Linked DNA regions of Homo sapiens: region 2 is linked to region 1. Evidence: promoter capture Hi-C in 16 types of primary human blood cells and fetal thymus (Javierre and others, 2016). All regions are on one chromosome and are shown on one strand. The core of a region is centred on a gene start or on the middle of the fragment in contact, and the rest is flanking DNA. Distances in the headings are between cores, read along the strand shown.

The links. Contacts are between HindIII fragments. The CHiCAGO score rates a contact against its expected background, and 5 or more counts as called.
Region 2: the fragment with the promoter of KMT2A here is called in contact with the fragment with the promoter of SIDT2 in region 1 in 1 of 17 cell types (monocytes); the score reaches 6.9 in monocytes.

The regions. Positions count from the first base shown.
Region 1 is chr11:117,175,665-117,181,059 of GRCh38, forward strand. SIDT2 (SID1 transmembrane family member 2) reads left to right here and starts at 3,079. Exons shown (of 26, transcript NM_001040455.2): 1 at 3,079-3,782. The coding sequence starts at 3,600. It also overlaps a transcript of PAFAH1B2 not described here. RefSeq lists a silencer at 3,178-3,387 and an enhancer at 4,368-4,437. The HindIII fragment of the contact is 6,932 bases long and covers 2,934-5,395 here.
Region 2 is chr11:118,433,424-118,438,818 of GRCh38, forward strand. It overlaps KMT2A (lysine methyltransferase 2A), which reads left to right and starts at 3,069. Exons shown (of 36, transcript NM_001197104.2): 1 at 3,069-3,521. The coding sequence starts at 3,090. RefSeq lists enhancers at 2,041-3,038, 2,238-2,377, 3,039-4,037, 4,038-5,035 and a silencer at 2,688-3,167. The HindIII fragment of the contact is 8,732 bases long and covers 1-5,395 here.

The DNA.
Region 1 (5,395 bases), core at 1,829-4,328:
CCCCGTTAAATTGCAGTTTTCTGGGCTCCACCTCCCAAGATGAATTAAGTGTGAAGTAGGACTCTGGATGTGCGTTTAAAACAGGCGTAGGGTCACATCTTGCCCCAAAGTTATGAGGCCAACTTAGAGTAGTGGTGCTTGCCTGTAATCCAGCTACTCGAGAGGCTGTGGCAGATCGCTTGAAGCCAGGAGTTCAAGACCAGCCTGGGCAATGTATCACGAGTGTTTCTTAATGTTTCAGATTATTTACTGGCAAGATGAGCAGGATTACCATGAAAGAAAAGTCCAGATGGACTGAGGAAATCCTACACTGATTCTCCAAACTTGGCAGCTGACTGCATGGAGGGCTCATGATGAAGAAACCTCTTTTGCCATCCTGAGGATTCTCTGATTCATATTCGCCTAGATGTGCTGGAAACAGTACTGGACCAAGGTGCAAACTTGAGTCTAGTGAGGTACTAATGGGCTGAAGTTTTTCTGAGCGTCACTTTCCTCATCTGTATAATGAGGGGTTGGCCAAGGAAACCCATAAGGTTATCTTCCAGCTGACTTTCTAATTGGTGAACCCTTTGGAAAAGGGGTGCAGCTTGCTTCTGGTCTTCATCCTCAAGTATGCTGTGCTTGGACAGGGGCCAAAACTAATTCCTCCACTCACCATTTGCCCAGCATAACTACAACAGTACCTGGCACATCGTGGATGCTTATTAAATATTTATTGCAGGAATGAGTAAATATAACTAACTGATCATAAGGTAAAATAGTCTTCATTGGAACAAGGCTCCAGATAGTTGGGCAGGGCTGGGAGCTGAGACTGCTGCAATCCTGCCAGCTGAGAGAACTCTGACAAGGCACTGATCTGGGTGGCTTTATTAGGATGTCTGACAGCTTCAGAGGTGGCCACATTTCTTTTCCTTTAAACATGTCTAATTTGGCCGGGCGCAGTGGCTCACGCCTGTAATCCCAACACTTTGGGAAGCCTAGGTGGGTGGATCACTCGAGGTCAGGAGTTCGAGATCAGCCTGACCAATATGGTGAAACCCCGCTTTACTAAAAATACAAGAAATTAGCAGGGTGTGGTGGCGGGTGCCTGTAGTCCCAGCTACTTGGGAGGCTGAGGCAGGAGCATCGCCTGAACTCAGGAGGCGGAGATTGCAGTGAGCTGAGATCACACCACTGTACTCCAGCATGGGTGACAGTGAGACTCCATCTCAAAAAAAAAAAAAAAAAAAAGTCTAATTTGTCTTATAAATGCAATATATGTGGCCAGGCATGGTGGCTCATGCCTATAATCCCAGCACTTTGGGAGACTGAGGTGGGTGGATCACCTGAGGTCAGGAGTTCGAGACCAGCCTGACCAATATGGTGAAACCCCGTCTCTACCAAAAATACAAAAATTAGCTGGGCGTGGTGGCACATGGCCTGTAATCCCAGCTACTCGGGAGACTGAGGCAGGAGAATTGCTTGAACCCAGGAGGCAGAGGTTGCAATGAGCTGAGATTGTGCCACTGCACTCCAACCTGGGCAACAGAGCGAGACCCTGTCTCCACCCCCCGGCAGATAAAAAAGCAATATATAAATATATATACATTGTAGAACATTTGTAAATCTTTTTAAATATAAAAAATAAAATTTAAGAACCACTCACAATCCATTATTTTTTATTTTTTGGTACTACTCTATATTTTTAGAATTAAAGGAAAATGATATACAATATGTGTTATTTTTAAAATTGTAATTCAAAGATAACTACTGCTAAATTTTATTTTTAAAATTTGCCCTGCTTTCTGGAGACATTGCTAAATGTTTAGTACAATTTTTTTCTATTTTTCTATGCATGTCTATATGCATTTGGAATATATACGGTTTTATTTACTTATTTATTTTTGAGACAGAGTCTTGCTCTGTTGCAGCCCAGGCTGGAGTGCAGGAGCATGATCTCAGCTCACTGCAACCTCCGCCTGGTAGAGTTAAGCGATTCTCCTGCTTCAGCCTCCCCAGTAGCTGGGATTACAGGCACGCGTCACCACGCCCCACTAATTTTGTATTTTTATAGTAGAGATGGGGTTCACCATGTTGGCCATGGCTGGTCTCGAACTCCTGACCTCAAGTGATCTACCTGTCTTGGCCTCCCAAAGTGTTGGGATTACACGTGTGAGCCACGGCACCTGGCTCTATATACTGTTTATTTAGTGTCATATCCTGAATTCTCTGCTTACGTGTCCTGTGAAGTCTTAAGCATCATTTTTGATGCCTTCATGATAGTGCATTTAACCAATCCCTCATTATGGATATCCAAGTCATTTCCTTTTTGCTTTATATTATAAATATCACAGTGATAAGCGTAGCTGCCCAGGTATTTTTATCTGTGCTTCCTATTTCCTTAGGATAGAGTCCAGAAGTGGAATTACTGGATCAAAGGGTATAAAGCTCTCTAAGTTTCTTGAAACAGTGCCAAAATATTTTGTAGAAAAGTTTTCACCAATTTACACTGAAGGTCAGTATCTTTCAATGAGTTTTGTAACTGTCTCTGAGAGAAGAGGGGAAACAGCCCGGCAAGCTTGGAAAGCTCGGAAGGCCGTCCCTGCAGTTGTGTGGCCCCTCTAGAGGGAGGTGGGAAAGGCATGGGGATTCCTCCTGCAGTGCTGCCTCCGTTTCCCCTCCGCCGGTAGGGCCACCGTCCTGTTTCCTAATCCTTCGAGTTTTTCATTTTTTAAGATCCCCGGAGAAAAAGTGGCCCAGGGTTGGACGATGTTAGTTGTAAAGGTGGTGGTGGGGGTGGGGGAATCCTTATGTTTGAGCAAATGTAAGAGTTGTTCAGCAAGAACCCAACACTTGGAGATTGTTAACAGAAACATCTGCCTATTCCAACGTGAGTTTCAGAGATGGTGAAAATCACGGGAGAGAGTTGGGTAGGAGTTGGAGAAGGCATTGCAAGCTTTCCCCTTCAGCTAGACAGCTGCAGCCCCTTTAAGGGCAAATGCGGGACCTGGTCCTTTAAATCTGTGTCAGTTTCCCCTGACGTCAGCGGGCGGGCCAGCAGCCCTGCTGTTTATCGCCCAGCGGCGCAGCTCACTTTTCAGTGTTCGTGCGTCGGGACGGCGCGTCCGCCCGCCCTTAAAGGGCCCGCACCTCGGAAAACTCGCAGCCCAGCACGGCGTCGGGTAGCTACCACCTATCACGCCCCTCACTCTGCGACTCGCCTTCCTCCGCGGCCAGCCCCCGCCGCCGGCTCTTCCTCCCTCCCCTTTCCCGGCGTCTCCAGGCTCCCGGCAACCAGCCGCCCTCCTTCTCACGGCCCTGGCCCGGGGCTCCAGGGTCTCAGGTCGTACTCAGCCCCTCGCGAGCTGGGACCCCTTCCCGTAGCCAGCATCCCCTCCCTCCCCGCCCCCTCCCGGCCGCCCCCTCCCCTGCGGGGACCCTGGGAGCCTCTTCGGGGCTCTTGGGAGGGGACATTTCCTAATCTCAGGCCGGGGTTAAAGTTCTGGTCCTGGTGAGATGCTGGAAGCTGCGGCCGCAGCCGCAACCCGTCCCGGAGGTGTCCTGTCTCCTGTCGCCGCCGCCGCCGCCACCACCGCTGCCACTGCCGCCCTGCCGGGGCCATGTTCGCTCTGGGCTTGCCCTTCTTGGTGCTCTTGGTGGCCTCGGTCGAGAGCCATCTGGGGGTTCTGGGGCCCAAGAACGTCTCGCAGAAAGACGCCGAGTTTGAGCGCACCTACGTGGACGAGGTCAACAGCGAGCTGGTCAACATCTACACCTTCAACCATACTGTGACCCGCAACAGGGTGAGGGCTGGGGGCTTAGGGGCCAGAGGCGAGTGGGGAAGCCGACGAGGGCTAGGCGATTCTGCCGCCCCGCTACCCTTTTGGGAGGCCCCAGGAACGAGCTGTCCTGCTAGGTTCCCAGTTCCCAGAACCACACTGGAGCCTCTTGACCAGTCCTCCTTCCTTTGCCACCAATGTTTCTCTGAAGCTCCAGCTGGGCAGTTTTTGAAGTTGGCTCATTCCCATCTTCTCTTCCGCCCCCATTCTTCCATCAGTTGTGGTCTGAGCACACATGGCTTGCTCTCTACCCTAAACCCCAGAATCTGACAGCTCTGTGGGGTCTCGGTGGGAGAGGAAACAGGCTTATTACTGGGCTTGCCCAGAAAACCTCAGGGGAATGAGACTGGCCCAGAACTGAAAAGCTCTGTGCAGGCAAGTTACATCTCAGACTCCCCAGGGAGATGAATGCAGGGCTTCCCAGCCCTCTTCCTGCCTGGGAGAGCCAGCTGGCCTTGTAAATTGAGGGTGACAGAGGTTTTATAAGGCCAACTGCAAGTTGGGTGGGAAGAGAAGGGGAATTTGTCCACTGTGAAAAATCCACTTCACCCTGACTTCTCTTTGGTTTCTTCACCAGCTGTGAGTCCCTGAGTTGAAATAGACACAGCTAGTGTGGGAAGTCTAGACCCCAGGCAGAGCTGAGATTGGGAGAATTCTTGCAACCTGGCTGTGTGGTCTCGTGCCCGGGTCTCTTGCTCTCTCTCCATGACTGCCGTTTACTGAGAAGCAATGGAGTTGAGAATGGGGAATCTGATTTTTTTTCAGAACGGGGAGTGGTTTGGTTTCTGTGGCAGGCCAGGATCTGCCCCCAGTGCCTGGTTCTCTGAAGTTTGATCTCTTTCTGCTTAGAGTCCTTTCTTCCTTTTTTCCCATATCTAAAGGCACTGGAGAGCTGTGGTTTTTACTCTTTTGGGAAATGCTGCCCTAGGGCTTGGGTTTCAGCAGCCCAATAACAAGCATTCCAAGATCGATTTGGTTTTATTTTTCCTTTAAGCTCCCATTGTTTATATATGTTCCTTCATAGCTCCAAGGGTGAAGATCACTTTATCTTTTTTTTTTTTTTTTTTTTTTTGAGACCAGTCTCACTCTGTTGCCCAGGCTGAAGTGCAGTTTTGTGATCTCAGCTCACTGCAACCTCCGCCTTCCCGGTTCAAGCGATTCTCCTGCCTCAGCCTCCCAAGTAGTTGAGATTACAGGCGCCTGCCACCATACCCAGCTAATTTTTGTATTTTTAGTAGAGATGGGGCTTCACCATGTTGGCCAGGCTGGTCTCAAACTCCTGACCTCAGATGATCCTCCTGCCTTGGCCTCCCAAAGTGCTACAAGCGTGAGTCACCGCACCCGGCTGTCATTTTATAGAGGGAGAAGTTGAGGCTTAGAGAAGTAAAGTGACTTCTCCACAGCCCTGTCCCTTGGTGGGAGCTAAGGATACAACATGGCCTTCAATACCTACCCCTCCTCAACTCCTCTGGGCTCTGGCCCCAGGTTAGCTGTTAACTAGAGCTTCCTGCTGGCTTCCTGGCTCACAGGAAGGTTGAGGAGCACTTCTTGTTCTCCTGTGTCTTCGTGTGTGGGGG
Region 2 (5,395 bases), core at 1,819-4,318, 1.3 Mb after region 1:
GTGCCCGGCCTTAAATTTTTAACCATATGAATGTATTAGGTATTCAAGAAAAATATGTTGAATGAAAATTTAAAATAAAAAATAAGTAAAGCACATCGAATTTAAGGTACCTAATGTGTAAGGCACAGAATGTCTTTTTTTTTTTTTTTTTTTTTTTGAGACGGAGTCTTGCTGTCGCCCAGGCTGGAGTGCAGTGGCGCGATCTCGGCTCACTGCAGGCTCCACCCCCCGGGGTTCACGCCATTCTCCTGCCTCAGCCTCCCGAGAAGCTGGGAATACAGGCGCCCGCCACCTCGCCCAGCTAATTTTTTGTATTTTTAGTAGAGACGGGGTTTCAGTGTTAGCCAGAATGGTCTCGATCTCCTGACCTCATGATCCGCCTGCCTCGGCCTCCCAAAGTGCTGGGATTACAGGAGTCGTAATGTCTTTTTATGATCAGCAGGATGGTTAACGGATATTTGCTGTCAGACCCCAGTGAGTTTTAGCACTTCTACTTACTAGCTGTGTGACTTTAGACATTATTCTAAGCCTCAGTTTCCCCATATGTAAAATCAAACTTATAGAATTGGAGAGAATTGAGTGCACATAAAGCACTTAGGCTCACAGAAAGCACTGAAAAATGTTATTATTAATATTTTCGCCCTAAAATCTCCAACAATAAACCAAATTCTGACTTGCTCTGGCTCCTTTTGGACTAGTCTAGAGGCAAAGAGACAAACTATATGATTTCTCAAGGAGTTTTTCTGCTCAGAGGCTTGAGTCTGGGGACTCCACACAATATTCGAAGACATTCTTCCTTCTTTCTGCTGCCTTGCAACCTGCAGACCTCCCACCTGTGTTAAATGAAGAATGCTTGAAGTGAGGTTACTCAGAACCCACCCGGTTCATGTTTTCTCAAGGGTAGAAGGCGGGAAGAAATCTGTTGACACAGTTATATAAAGCCTGTCATTCAGTCCCCTGCCTATTACCTCTGCAGACCGTTATGCATATTAAAGAAGGGGGGGCGGCAAATACAAAAGAAAAATAAGAGAGACGAGAGAGAGAGAGAAAGAGAGAGAGAGAGAGAGAGAACGAACAAATCAGGATGCTTGAGGGAATCCACGTGGTCGCCAATCTGTAACTGATCAGAGCAGCTACACTGAAGCAAAAACCCCAGCGCCCAACGCTAAATATATTGCAATGGAGAAACCGTCCACAATGGGGTGTCTCTGTCCTTAGCAGAGCCTTGGGGCTGCCGTTTAAGACCCTCCTGCTACTCCCACCCTTTTAGCATCTAGTAAACCACGCGCTGTAACAACGGAATCTTGTTCTGTGTATTGCGTTGTGCGAGTGTGCGCTTTGCAAACCATCTGGGCCCCATCCTGCGCGGTTGGAACGAAGATCGATTCGGGACGAGTTGGGGGAGTTGAGGCTTGCCTGTGTCTCCTCCCTTTCATTGCTCCTCTCCAGCCCCCATCCCATCGTCCGCTCTGCACAAATGTTTCGCCAGTGGAGGGACGTAGGTTTTCAGCACCAGGAGGCTGTGGACCTTCTCTGGAGGCGTGAAGTGCACCCTCCGGAGGGCCAGAGCTGAGTGCAACCTGCTCACAACGACCCTCTCCCTCCTTCCCAAATTCGCCGCCCCAGGCTGTAATATTACATGCAGTGCGCTGTACCGGTGCGGGAGTCCAGGAAGGCTGCATGACCTTCCAGCGAACTCCCCCTCGGCTTGGGGGATGGAGGCTGCCCCGGGGCCTGCAGGCTGTGTATCGATCCCCCAGCCTCAGCCAACGCAAGTTCTCCCGACACAAACCCCTCCCTACCCTCTCGGCTTTCCCAGCCTTGCAGGCGTCTAACGCTATGCTCGAGGCGCCCTCCCCTCTTTCCCGCAATAAAGTAAACCCGGTGGATATTCATTCCCCTCCCTAACTCGCCTCCTTCTTTCCCCCTCCCCCCTCAGCTTACTAACCCCGCGCACAGAGCTCGCCGCCGGCGGGCCCCTTCCACCCAGTGTATCATAATGCCCAACGCTCTCCTCCTCCCCCTCTCTTAATCAGAAACGTGCTCGCGAGCCCCCCTCCCTCTGCGTGCATACATTAGGGTCTGCTTTGCATGCAGCGGCAGGCAGAGACCGGAGGAAGAAGGGGCGGGGGCGCTTTTGCCCGCCTCTTCCCTCCAGGCCCCGTTAGCCACCCAGCTTCAGCTTCGTTGTAACACCGCGTCGTTAGCGGAGCACGCCGTGGCCTCAGTGCCCGGGCTGGAGAAACACAACCCAACTCCCTGCAGAAGGGCACGAAAGCCAGACGAGTGCACAGTAGAGCGAGGAGGTGGCAGGAGACCTGCCACTCGGTGTGTGCTTTTTGGAAAGAGCTCCAGCATGAAAATGGGAGGGGCTCCTTTTTTATTTTTTAAAGTGCGTTCATTGAGGGCCTTTCTGTTTTGCATATAGTAAACTGGGCAGCGCTTCTGTTTTGCATGTAGTACAATAAGGGCTCTTTTATTCTAGAAGCGTTCAATTCGGGCTAACCCATCTTGTATCCGTGCCCTGGGGCGGAGGAGAAGGCTCACTGCTCCCCGACCCAGCCGCCGCGTTATACTGGAAGCTGCTCTCCCGGGCTGTTCGATTCCCAGCGCGTCCCGGGAACGTGTGTAATCGGCCTCTCGGCGCTCAAGGCTGCAGGCGGCCCGGCTCCCTACGCCTCCATCCTCCGCGTAGTCCTCGCCCCCTCCCCCTCTCTCCGGAACCCGCGCTCTGCTCCGGGCTCCCGGGCTTCCTTCCCCCCTCCTTTTCCCGAGCAATGCCTCTCCCGGAGGGCGGGGCATGCAGTTATCCAGGTTGCGGGGCCGGCGGGCGGGCAGGAGGCGGCGGCCCGGGCCTCGGGATGGAGTTGCAGCGCCCAGGCGTCAGAGGCGGAGGCCCGAGGCCGCTATACAGATTGCGGGGCTGGCGGGCGCGGCCCGGCGCTCTGCATAGCGGCCGGCAGGGTGCAGGCGGCCGGGCGGCGCAGAGCTGGTTAGGCAGGTTCCGGGGCCCCGTGCCCCCCCCTCCGCCTCCCCGCCCCCCTGTGTTGTCGCCTCTCCCTCTCGCTGCTTCACTTCACGGGGCGAACATGGCGCACAGCTGTCGGTGGCGCTTCCCCGCCCGACCCGGGACCACCGGGGGCGGCGGCGGCGGGGGGCGCCGGGGCCTAGGGGGCGCCCCGCGGCAACGCGTCCCGGCCCTGCTGCTTCCCCCCGGGCCCCCGGTCGGCGGTGGCGGCCCCGGGGCGCCCCCCTCCCCCCCGGCTGTGGCGGCCGCGGCGGCGGCGGCGGGAAGCAGCGGGGCTGGGGTTCCAGGGGGAGCGGCCGCCGCCTCAGCAGCCTCCTCGTCGTCCGCCTCGTCTTCGTCTTCGTCATCGTCCTCAGCCTCTTCAGGGCCGGCCCTGCTCCGGGTGGGCCCGGGCTTCGACGCGGCGCTGCAGGTCTCGGCCGCCATCGGCACCAACCTGCGCCGGTTCCGGGCCGTGTTTGGGGAGAGCGGCGGGGGAGGCGGCAGCGGAGAGGTAAGGGGGCGAGGAACCCCCAGGTCCGGGGTCTCGACCCTCTGCGGAGCCCCCTCCCCTCCCCCATCCGGGATTGAGGAGCATCCCAATTCTGGGACCATCTCGGGGTCCCTGACCCGGGGCGAATGGCTCTCCCATCTTGGGACCCCCATGCAGGGCTGCAGACCCCCAGGCGCCCCCACCCCGGGGTTTGGGCCCATCTGGCTGAGGGCGTTTGCCCCCCGCTCTCCTCCCCCTGACCCTTCCCCAAATCCCTTGGCACAGACCCCCTCGCCGGGGTTTCCCATCCCGGGACTGAACCCCTCCTCCCTTTCACAGATTACCTCATCCGAGCAAGATTCCTCCCTCCCTCCCTCCTAGAGACCTGATCCCGCCACATCCCCGCCTCCCTCTCTGGGCAGATGTGTTACTCCTAGGGCAGTTTTCCTCTCGGGCGTCTCTCGGGTGATGGCCTCATCCAGGGCCACGTTCTCCTGGCCCTTGGGGATCGTGTCCCTTCCAGCACCTTGCTTTCGAAAACCCGATGAACCCTCGCGCCATCCCCGGGCCAGGTCCCTATACTGCCAGCCACTCCCCCTTCCTTCACCTCCACCCTCTACCCCCACCCCAAGCAGACCGATCCTCCCCCATCCCGCCCTACCCCACCGGGGAAAATCTCTCCTCTGCACCTTGCCTGGTCTCACCTCCTTTCCCTCTGAAGATAACGGTGATTCCTCATACAGCAGTCTCTTCCCCCCCCCGCCCCGTCTTACAGGGCTACAGTTTCTAGCCTATTGGTAGCCGGGAATTACTCTACCTTCACTCCACCCTTTCCCTCCTTTAGAATGAAGGATTAGTGGCATCTTGGAGGGGAAAATAGTCCACTGTCCCCTAGGCTTAGAGAAGAGCAGCTTTCCACCACTCCCCTTGGAGAGGAGGCAGGCTTTCCCTCCAGCTCTGGGGAAGGGGGCCCCTGTGAGGGGAGGTGTTTGTTGGGGGACTGAGGCAGCATCCTCCCAGGGGAAGCAGCTGCTCTCCTACCCCACCCACTGCGCCTGAGAGCACGCAGTCTCCAACCCGAGCTCCCTCCCGCCCTTCTCTTCTCGTCATTTCATTATTGATCCACCTTTTCCTAGGCCAATCCTGGGGCTTGGAAGGGGTGGGGGAAGCCAGGTTGGGGTGAGGAGAGTAGATAAGGGACAGTTATACTTTAGTGTGGTGGCGGTGGTTGCTTTGGGATGGGAGAAAAAGGATTATCAAGCAAAGTTATTCCTTAGAAAGGACTTGGGGTTGTCTCTGATTCTTGTAAGGGGACCCAAGGTGGATGAAGGGTCAGAGCGTTGCCCCTTCCCCATTAGTACTGGGGCAAGAACGGAGTTGCTTCTATAAACATTATTCGGCCCCCTTCAGCAAAAAGGAAAGTTGCCCAAGGAAGGGAAGTTGAGTTCAGGTTCAGCCAGTGGCGTTGCGCATTTGTTTTCCATTGGATGCAGAAGGGGGGAGTTCGAATTGTAGAGGGGGGAGGATGGCATGGGGGATGCTAGGAGGAGGAAGAGCAGCTGCTAGGGGCTGAAGCGAAGGGGGGTAGGGGGTTGCTGCTCTGGAGTGCTCTTGATTGAAACAGAAAGGGAAAGATAACAACCAGCCGTTTCCTGCGTGCTCTGCCGTTGGTGCACACAAAATATCCTGGGCAAACCCCTTGTCCCCTATTGTGCCCCGCACCCCTTTAGATTTACGGAAAGATCCTGGGAAGAAGGGGAGGGAGGAGATCCCAAGGACCCTGGCCCCTCCTTTCAAGGAGCTGGCATTTTTTAGTTGTTAGTCTTCCTGCCTCCTTTTTTTTAATCGTTTCTAAGGCAGCCTGATCAGGAGACTGACAACAACCCGCCTTCTGA